Linked DNA regions of Homo sapiens: regions 2 and 3 are each linked to region 1. The links are contacts of gene promoters, found by promoter capture Hi-C in blood cells and fetal thymus (Javierre and others, 2016). All regions are on one chromosome and are shown on one strand. Each heading gives the region's core, a stretch centred on a gene start or on the middle of the fragment in contact. The rest is flanking DNA. Distances are from core to core; before and after follow the strand shown.

What was found. Contacts are between HindIII fragments. The CHiCAGO score rates a contact against its expected background, and 5 or more counts as called.
Region 2: a fragment that was not itself captured here is called in contact with the fragment with the promoter of RASGRF2 in region 1 in 3 of 17 cell types (activated CD4 T cells, non-activated CD4 T cells and naive CD4 T cells); the score reaches 7.5 in activated CD4 T cells.
Region 3: a contact is called between a fragment that was not itself captured here and the fragment with the promoter of RASGRF2 in region 1, in 6 of 17 cell types (activated CD4 T cells, non-activated CD4 T cells, total CD4 T cells and 3 more). The highest score is 10.2, in activated CD4 T cells.

Annotation. Positions count from the first base shown.
Region 1 is chr5:80,958,902-80,962,200 of GRCh38, reverse strand. It overlaps RASGRF2 (Ras protein specific guanine nucleotide releasing factor 2), which reads right to left and starts at 1,838. Exons shown (of 27, transcript NM_006909.3): 1 at 1,175-1,838. The coding sequence starts at 1,462. It overlaps RASGRF2-AS1 (RASGRF2 antisense RNA 1), which reads left to right and starts at 1,294. Exons shown (of 4, transcript NR_105015.1): 1 at 1,294-1,420. RefSeq lists an enhancer at 1,014-1,735. The HindIII fragment of the contact is 16,452 bases long and covers 1-3,299 here.
Region 2 is chr5:81,060,317-81,063,447 of GRCh38, reverse strand. All of the region lies in intron 2 of RASGRF2 (Ras protein specific guanine nucleotide releasing factor 2), which reads right to left. Among named protein-coding and RNA genes, the nearest start is that of RASGRF2-AS1, 100 kb to the right of the region's middle. The HindIII fragment of the contact is 2,538 bases long and covers 347-2,884 here.
Region 3 is chr5:81,083,240-81,086,413 of GRCh38, reverse strand. RASGRF2 (Ras protein specific guanine nucleotide releasing factor 2) reads right to left here. Exons shown (of 27, transcript NM_006909.3): 8 at 503-612. Among named protein-coding and RNA genes, the nearest start is that of RASGRF2-AS1, 120 kb to the right of the region's middle. The HindIII fragment of the contact is 1,490 bases long and covers 702-2,191 here.

The sequences.
Region 1 (3,299 bases), core at 589-3,088:
TAAGTCTGTTAATGATTTATAGTGAAAACAACTCAAACTTCCGGTCGGTCTAGTTTTAACTCCTCTTAATTTTACACATTGTTTTATGAGCCCCAAAGGGTTAGGTAGGCATCTTACGGATCACTCCATTGCTAGCACCTCCCACAGCCTCTGTGGTGTGCGGTAGATGCTGTCTGATCTGAACTCACATGGAAAATTCAGCTGCGAATATTTTTACGCAACAGCAAAAACAATCAGCCTTTTTCATATCAAGGTGGGGATTGAGAAGCTAAATGAGAACATTAGGGGCATAAAATTAGTCTGCTTTAACTTTAATAACCAAACGGTGATTGGAAACATACAAACTTTGTGTTTGCAGGAATGAGGGGCTGGGATCACTAAGACTTAAAGGGTTTTTCTCCCCCACCCCGCGACCATGAGCACACAGCAAAACTAATAAAATTATGACCCAGAATTAAAAGGTCGCATTCATTTTCAAAGCATTCATTTAAAAGTACAGAAGCGTTCTTTAAAAATGCCCACATTTTTAAACATAGCAAGAATGTGGCTACCAAATATTAATCCTGAGGAATATGAATACACATTTACCTTCATAATTACACCCAGCAGGTCAAATGTTAGCAAGGCCAACTGACCGAAATCACAAAGACTGATTGAAAATGACCAACAGAAAGTGTCTGTCCGGCTTGGGAGCCCCGCTTGTTCCCAGCCCAACCAGTGGTCAAACATCTGCAGGCAAAGAAATCTACACGCGCCAGCCGGGTATGGCAGAAATCAAACTTTTCCAAATAAGTTAGTTCCGTCTTGCCAATCTACACCCAACAGGTGTCAATACATGTCACCAGACAAAAATCTGGCGAGCCAGGTCTAGAGAAGCAATAGATGGTTGGCAGAGAAGCTGAAACGACTCGACCTCTACCAGGGTAATGAAAGCAAGTCGGGCCACTATTCTGACTGATCACTTGGCAGTGGGGTGGAGGGGTATGGAGATGGGAGAATCCCTGGATGAAGATCGGAAGGAGCGTGGAGATGTCCCGCCACTGGTGACGCGGGGGGATTTCGGAGCATAGTCCCCGCACTCTTTCACGACCCCCGACCCCTGATCCCCGGATTAGGACGGCAAGGGAGTGCGGCGATCAAGGCTGGGAGACCGCGGAGAGAAGGCGCGCGGTACCTGCTTGTCCAGCGCGTCTCGGACGCCTCCCTGCCCGGCGCCGGCCCTGGGTGGCGCGGGCGTTCGTTCGCAGCTGCAGCCCTCCAGGAGGTACATGCCCGCCGGGCGGCAGCTCTGCTCGCCCTCGAAGTAGAAGAGCACATTCTGGTAGAGGGCGAACCACTTCTCGTGCCAGCGGCTCGCCTCGGCCGTCTTCTTACTCAGGAAGCCGCGCTTGGTGCCCTCCTTGCGCGCCAGAAAGGCCAGGTACAGGGCGTGCCCCTCGTTGTAGCGCACGCTCTTCTGCATGGTGCGGGTGCGGAGGGCTCACGGGTGGCCGCCGGTCTCACCCCTGCCTCGCGGCCATGGCCCAGCTGGCTCCCTCGAGGGCGCGACCGCTCAGGTCCCGGCCGGCGAAGGGCGCCCCCTTTCCCCACGCCGCGCGCAGGGCACCCCGCCCGCTTTCGGGAGGCCGCGGCGCGCGGTGGCAGGGGCGCGGGCTGGGGCCGAGGCACGCTCTCCGCCCTAACCACCACCCTCCCGGCCGAGCCCCCGGAGCCCCCCAAGCCCCCAACGCCCGCGTGGAGCGCGGCCCCGCGAGGGCGCCCGAGCCGGCCGCCGCTTCGCCCAAAGTTGCGGGAGCCGAGCCCCCGCGGCGGGCTGGGGCGGCAGCCGGGGAAGGACTGTCCTCGGGCAACGCGCTCCGGGAGACAGAAGGTAAAACGTCACGTGGGAGCTCAGCTGTAATCGGCTTGGAGACCGATTTAAAGGGCAAAGTCGGCGCGGCGCCGGCGGTGGCGCAGCCCGCTTGCCCCGGCTCGCGTCCCTCCCTCGCCCGCCCCGGCCCGGGCCGCTGCCTCTGCTCGGGCGCCCGCCGGGATGGGGCGGATCAGGGAGGTGGAGGCGCCCGGCCGCACCACACACCCGCTCACACGCGCTCGCACACTCGCGCACAACGCGCGCACACACACACGCACACCCACACACACGCAGACCAGTACATTCACCCAGATCCACAATGCACACACTCAGACGCACAAAAATACACTCACAAATGCACACAAACACAATGCGCGCACATATGCACAAAAACACACGCGCACACACTCATGACACACAAATACACATTCTCACAACGCTCACACTCAACACACAGTCACAACGCACAAATGCATATAGACAAATACACCCACAATGTGCGTTCCCGCGCACAAAAATAAAACCCACATTCAGATACACACTTAAGGAGCTACACACATGCACGCAGTGATATGCTCACTTACACACACATTCACACACAACCCACACATTCACTCAAACCCACATTCAAACATACATTCATACACACATTACACTCATACAGTCACACAAACAGCACACATATACTCACACGTTCACAATCATACAGACTCATAAGCAGATAATCAAACACACACACAGATGAACACACATGTACATTCACAAATTCATCCAAAAATACACACAAAGCACTCACACACGTATTCGCACGAATCCACACACTTTCACAAACCCACTCACACATACACACACACTCACATGCCACATCCATAAGTACGTTCCCATGGCAGTAGGTAGAGTCACAGAGTGGCTTTGCATAGCCCGCATCCTTGGCTTTTCTGCTTGTACCTGCATTGTAGTATTTAAAACTGCCGGTAAAGGTTAAGGAGAGTGGCCCAAGTGTTCCCGGAAAGGCATCAGATGCCGAAGTTCTTTCGGAATGCCTGTTATTTCACAGTGGTAAGATGCTAAATTTTAAGTGCCGAGTTTTCAACCTGGAAAAAAATACCCAAATAAGGGACACTTTGCTGCCCAGGGCAGAATCCAACCCCAAAGGCCAGCTGTCACAGGCTCATCGTTTGTAGGACTGGATTCATTTGATTAACAAATCTGACAGGTACAACCAGAAAACCAAGAGCCACCCCCCCGCCCCAACCCCATGCTGTAAAAATGTAAGTGGAAAAGAAATAATGTAGCCAGCAGCTGTGAGAGAAAGCCAGTGAAACCCCCGGGGAGGGCCTATATTTGATTCTGCTATACACATTTTTTATTTTCCCCAGTCATTTATCACTAAAACGGAGTGCCATCATAAAATGTTTATTGTTAAAAGTAAATAATAATGCTTTTC
Region 2 (3,131 bases), core at 366-2,865, 100 kb before region 1:
TGGTGAAACTCTGTCTTTACTAAAATACAAAAAATTAGCCAGGTGTGGTGGCGGGCATCTATAGTCACAGCTACTTGGGAGGCTGAGGCAGGAGAATCATTTGAACCCGGGAGGCAGAGGTTGCAGTGAGCCGAGATCACGCCACTGCACTCCAGCCTGGGCAACAGAGAGAGACTCCATCTAAAAAAGAAAAAACAGAAATGGAAGAAACTTTCCCTGAACTGAGCATAGCACAGTTCAAATAGAATAATCCAAATACCAGACAAGATAAATGAAAACATTTCATACTCTGATACATCTTGGTAAAATATCAGAATTCTAAGGATAGAGAAAAATTATAGAAGCTTCCAAAGAGAAACAATAGGTAGCAAAAGGAAGTGAGAATCATGCTGTCATAGTTTTTTTTTTTCTGTCATACTTTTCATCATTAACTTGGAATTCTAGGTGGCAACAAAGAATTGTGGAGAAAATATTTTGAGCCTGCATAACAATTTCTAAAACAATAAACAATACACAGACAACCAATCACTGACCAAGTACCAGGACAAGACAGGAAAAACTTACTATCCCCACACACTTACTGCAGGAAAACATTATGAGGAGGTTTTCCAACCAAACAAAACAGAAATCAAAGACAATAAAATGACATTGAATGCAAGAAAACAAGCCAGATGAAGTAAAGGAAGGTAGAAAGAAACTAGAAGTTGACACACACAAGGTTCTTCTTCAAGGAGCAAATATTCAATGACACGGTACATTTCATTCTCTGTGGGACCAAACACCAACCTTGATACTTTGGGACACAATATTTGTTATAACCACTATGGAAATGTTCCTTGTTGGTTTTTAATTTTCAGAATCAGCCTATGACAAAACACAGAGGAACAATTTAGAGAACAGAATATGTCTAAAAGTTTATAAAGTGAGAATAAATAATAATGAAAGAAAACCTCAGGATTAGAAAAGAAAAAACAATGAAAACACATTAAATGTCTTAACTTATTATACTTATTTTTCCTAGCAGAGACAATACATACTGTCTAAAGTTGATAAATCAATAGAGGTTTAATTATATTATTTTAAGTTATGAAGTCAACCAATTTAAGATCTAAAAATATGTAAGTAACAAAAACAGAGCGGGCAAAAGACAGGGACATAAGAGGTATTGTAAGGGTGTTAAATTTTTCATTTTTATGCCAGAGAATCAATCACACTGGCTAAAATTAGTAAGTCAAGAAATACACAAAAGGGCTTCACACAATGTAATAAACAAATGACTAATAAATGCATGAAAAAGGGTCCTTCTTGCTGGGCACAGTGGCCTATGCTTACAATCCCAACACTTTGGGAAGCTGAGGTGAGAGGATAGCTTGAGGCCAGGAGTGACCAGCCTGAGCAACATAGTAAGATCTCATCTCTACAGTTTTTTTTTTTTTTTTTTTTTTTTTTTGTCAGCTGGGATCAGGTGTGGTGGCTCATGTCTGTAATCCTAGCACTTTGGGAGGCTGAGGCAGGCAGATCACTTTAGCTCAGGAGTTTGAGACCAGCCTGGGCAACATGGTGAAACCCCATCTCTACAAAATAAATACAAAAATAAGCTGGGTGTGGTGGCATGCACCTGTAGCCCCAGCTACTTGGGGGGCCAAGGCGGGAGGGTAACTTGAGCCCGGGAGATCAAGGCTGCAATGATGGTATTCATGCCACTGCACTCCAGGTTGGGTGACAAAATGAGACCCTATCTCAGAAAGGAAGGAAAGAAGGAAGGAAATAAATTAGCTGGGTGTGGTAGCATACACCTATAGTCCCAGCTACTCAAGGAGGCTGAGGCAGGAGGATCACTTGAGCCCAGGATTTTGAAGCTGCAGTGAGCTATGATTGCACCACCACACTCCAGCATGGGAAACAGGGAGAGATCCTGTCTCAAAAAAAAAAAAAAGTCCTTCTTAATCAAAGAATTACAAATTATTTACCAAAACTGGTTAAGATTTTTAGAAAAATAGTACTCAGGGCTAACAAAGATATAGTAAATAGATATTGTCATATAGTACCACTGAAGTGAGTCATTGTAGAAGACAATATCACAATATGTATCAAAACAGGTCAAAATGGTTATATCCTTTGCCTTCATAATTTCACTTCTAATAATATCACTCAAGAAAAATAATCTGACACTTGCACAACGAGATACAAAAGAAACAAAATGTTCATTCATTAAAAACAAATATAAGAAAATGGAGACAATCTAAATATACACATTTATAATATGGGATTGGTTAAATAAGTAATAATATATCTTCATAATGGAATGATAACAAGCCATTTAAAATATGTTTTTTGAAAATAGTCATAACATAATGGCACATACCCAAGATTTATTGATAAATAAACAGAAAAAAAAACAAGAAATTGAGATAAACATTATATGTACATGTACATGTATATATGTTCATACACAGAGGGAGAAAATTAAGTGTATACACAGACATAAGCAGAAGAGGAGAAGGGAAGAGAGAGACAGAGAGAAAGGTACTCTAATGAGAGACATACATCAAAACTTAAAGGGAGCTTTCTTTGGCTGGAGCAATTATGGGTGATTTTTAATTTCTTCTTGAGTTACTTCTTTTGTACTTTTCCATACTTTCCAATATTTCTGTAATATTAAGTGGGGAGAAAAGAGAAAATACATAAAATCCTAATGGTAGTTATTTACTTCATGCATTGGGATTATAAGTAACATGATTTCCTTCTTCCTGGGTTCCTGCGAGTCCAAATTGATTCTTTGAGTCAATAAATATTTACTGAGTGTTGTATATTTGGGAACTGTTCAAAATACTGGGCACAGGAGTAAACACAGTAGGAAAAAAATCTGTGTCTTTATGAAGCTTATACAGTAGTAGAGAGAGAAAGACAACATTAATAAGACAAATCTATCATATGTCACCTGGTGATGAGTACTGTAGAGGAAAAATGGTAAGAGGAGAACAGGAAGTAGGGGGGCAGAGGTTACAATTTTAACCAAGCGGTGAGGGCTGCTTTCATGGAGAAATGGTACTGGAGAAACGACTTGAAGCAGGGACATGCGTGGCTAGCTGATGGAACAGCATCCAGGCCCAGGGAACAGTATGTGCAAA
Region 3 (3,174 bases), core at 197-2,696, 120 kb before region 1:
CAAACTGTACATTCTCTAGCTTCTTACCAAATATGAATACAAAATGCAACTGAGAGTCTTTTTTGTTGAGATGGGGTCTCGCTATGTTGCCCAGGCTGGTCTCAAATTCCTGGGGTCAAATAATCATCACCCCTTGCACCCTCGTCTCAGCTTCCCAAGTAGCTGGGACTACAGGTGCACACCACCACACCTGGCTATCATTTTTTTTTTAATGCTGAAAGAAACATGAACATTTCCAAACTTAAACCAAAATACACCTAATCTGAATTACATAAATTCACATGCTATAAGAACATTTTCCAAGATACGTATTTTTCTTGGTTCAAATGAATGTGAATGATGATTCAATATCACCTCACAAGCTACTATTTAACTTTCAGGTGAATCTGAGAAGCTGGATTTGTTTTGCTTCTTGTTCCTTAGAACATATACAGGAGGTTTCCACAAGAGACTAACTTGCTGCTTTCCTCTCCCAAGCCTTTGTTATAAGTTCTTGGCATACCTGGATAGTTCCTCTAGCTTTGATTTGGCAAACTCCAGGCTTTTCCTTTCCACATGCTCATGGGGTGTGTGAGCAAGGAGCTCATGGAGTGTGATGATATATCTGGGGATCTAGATGCAAACAGAGGCCAGTATGAGCAAGACATCAGGATGGGTGACAGGGCACATGCTCCGCAGGGCCATCATTGCTTCGAGAAGCTTGTCTCTACTCTCCCACTTTTTACTGTTTTACACATTTTTTAAAAAAGAAATACAAATAAAATGAACTACACTTCACACTTCATGCACACCAAAAAAAAGACTTCACCAAGAACACATGAAAAGGTGGAAATTATTGAAGTGTTATGGTACAAAGAGATGGTTGTTTCTTTAATTTTTTTTTACATAATCATACACTTTTGAATCATAATTTTTGAAAACTGGTTCAGAGGGAAACAGATACAGCTATCATCAAGTCACTTGAGTCTGTATTTTAGATATATTAGTCCATTTGCAATGTTTTTAAATCAACAATCCCACTGCACTATTCTCCCTAAGAATTAAAACTTGGGAGAAGACATGTTCACCTTTATTACTTTCTGTTTCTACTTTATCTCAATTCACCTCCTTGCAGTAAAAAGTATTGTTTAGGTTATTTATTTGTACTTTTGTTTATTAACAGACTATCTGAATTCTGTCAAAGACAGAAACTCCACCAACCAGAGGAAGATCTTAATAAACCATGATAGAGATTCAACCTAATTTCTAGTGACACAACTTATTTATTGTGGGCTTAATTTTAACAATAACATGCATGAACATCTACCACAACATTACCCACTCGGGGGTTAGACTGGGTGCTCCAGGCTTTGCCAATGTGTCCAGTCCTCTAACATCATAAGGATTATGTCTCCATTTTATAGATAGAGAACTAAAATGGGAAGAAGTTTTAGGCTTTTACAGATAGAGAACTAAAGTGGGAAGAAGTTTGGTAACTTGCCCAAACTTGCCCCATTGGTGGCCTCACAGTAAATGGGAGCGTCAACTATAATCCCAGCTCTGACCAGTGCACTAACTGTCTTTTCTCAGAACTCACCCTGGGAGCTCTCGTCTGCGGGGACTGAGGTCTCACTCAGCACTTGAAAGTACCTTTGAGAATGAAGAAACTACAACAGCTTTCCAGGACCCTGTGTGCAGTTTCTTCCATTCTGTCCTGAAGGGTCAGTGGCCCTACCTAGGGATCTGCATTGGCTCTTGTGCAAGTGGTGGCCTTCATTGGGCTGCTTACCAATGTTTATTGAGTGTGTCCATTTACACACTATGCATAGACACAGCCACCATTAGCACAGACATTGAACTTCAGCTCTGGGATCACACCCTAAGGAATGTCATCAAATCAAGGCTTCAGGAAGCACAAATAGGCCCCCTTCATCGTGGAAGGGTGGGAAACAGGAGAATCCTCCCTTTTTAGGATATATGGAGGAGATTTTCTGCTCCTTCTCCCATGAACTTCTCACTAATACAGCCCTTAGGGTTGTCCCACTTGATGAAGTCTCCTGGGATAAGTGTGCTTTCAAATATCTTTTTCGCTGGCATAATTGCATGACTGATAAAAGTTTGCCTCTAATTAGTAATTCCACAAGAAAATCAAGGCAATCAATAGCTAATGTACAAAATTTTTCATAGCAAACAGGACAGGTGTAGGAAAGCTTGAGTACTTATAATGCACTGAAAATCCACAAAACTGAGTTTGGTCAATACTCTCATGATCCTTCCTCATTACTTAAATTTCTTTTAAAGTGCTCGCTGGCTAAGATTCAGGTAGATGGATTTGAATTCAGTCTCTGGCCCTTTCTGCCTTATGGTGAAGGAACAAACAGGCACTGAAACTGCCAAAAAGCAGGCAAACGAAGTTCTGCAGAGAAGTGGTCAGCTCTCCAAAGGGCTCATCTGTATCTTCAAGAGCTGATTATAAATCTCTTCCCCCAAAACCAAGAATCATAGGAACTGTCTAAATGAATCATAATTCTGCTTTCAATTATGGAGCAAATACTTGTCACTTTATAGACATTAATTAGCTTGCTCTCCAATTACAGTAAATAAGTGGATAGAATAGCAAGTAGCTACTTTCTGGAGAACATCTAACACTGCTGTTCTTGTCAGGAGCAGATTTCACGATTGGCTTACCAATGGACTTTCGACACATACATATCCAAATAAATACATGAGCAGCTGAAGCCAATTTAAACAGTACCAGCCAAGCCACTGTCTTTAATAAATAAAAATTATGTTAATGACAACATTATTTTCCATAACAAATTTCTTGGCAATACTTGGACTTACTGTTCTGATAGTTCAACTGGGGATAATTTTACTGCATCATCCAAATTCTACAATTTCTCCATGTTTCCATAGTTCAACATAGCTTGATAACAGCAGCAACTGACTAACTCAAAAAAGGGCCGAGAAGGAGGAAGACAATCACCTTCTCTCTTCTACACATACAAGCTAAAGGCTTCCAATTGCCTCTCCTCCTCTCTCTTCCCCTACACTAACTTCTGCCTCCATATCTGGGCTCAAGAAAGTCTGGACAGAGGTCTCTTGGCAGTATAAACTAGGGTCACCTCTTCCACTGTTGGCCTCCAGCAAAAAAAAAAAAAAAAAGTGAGAACCCTAGCCTCATCCTGAGGCGTC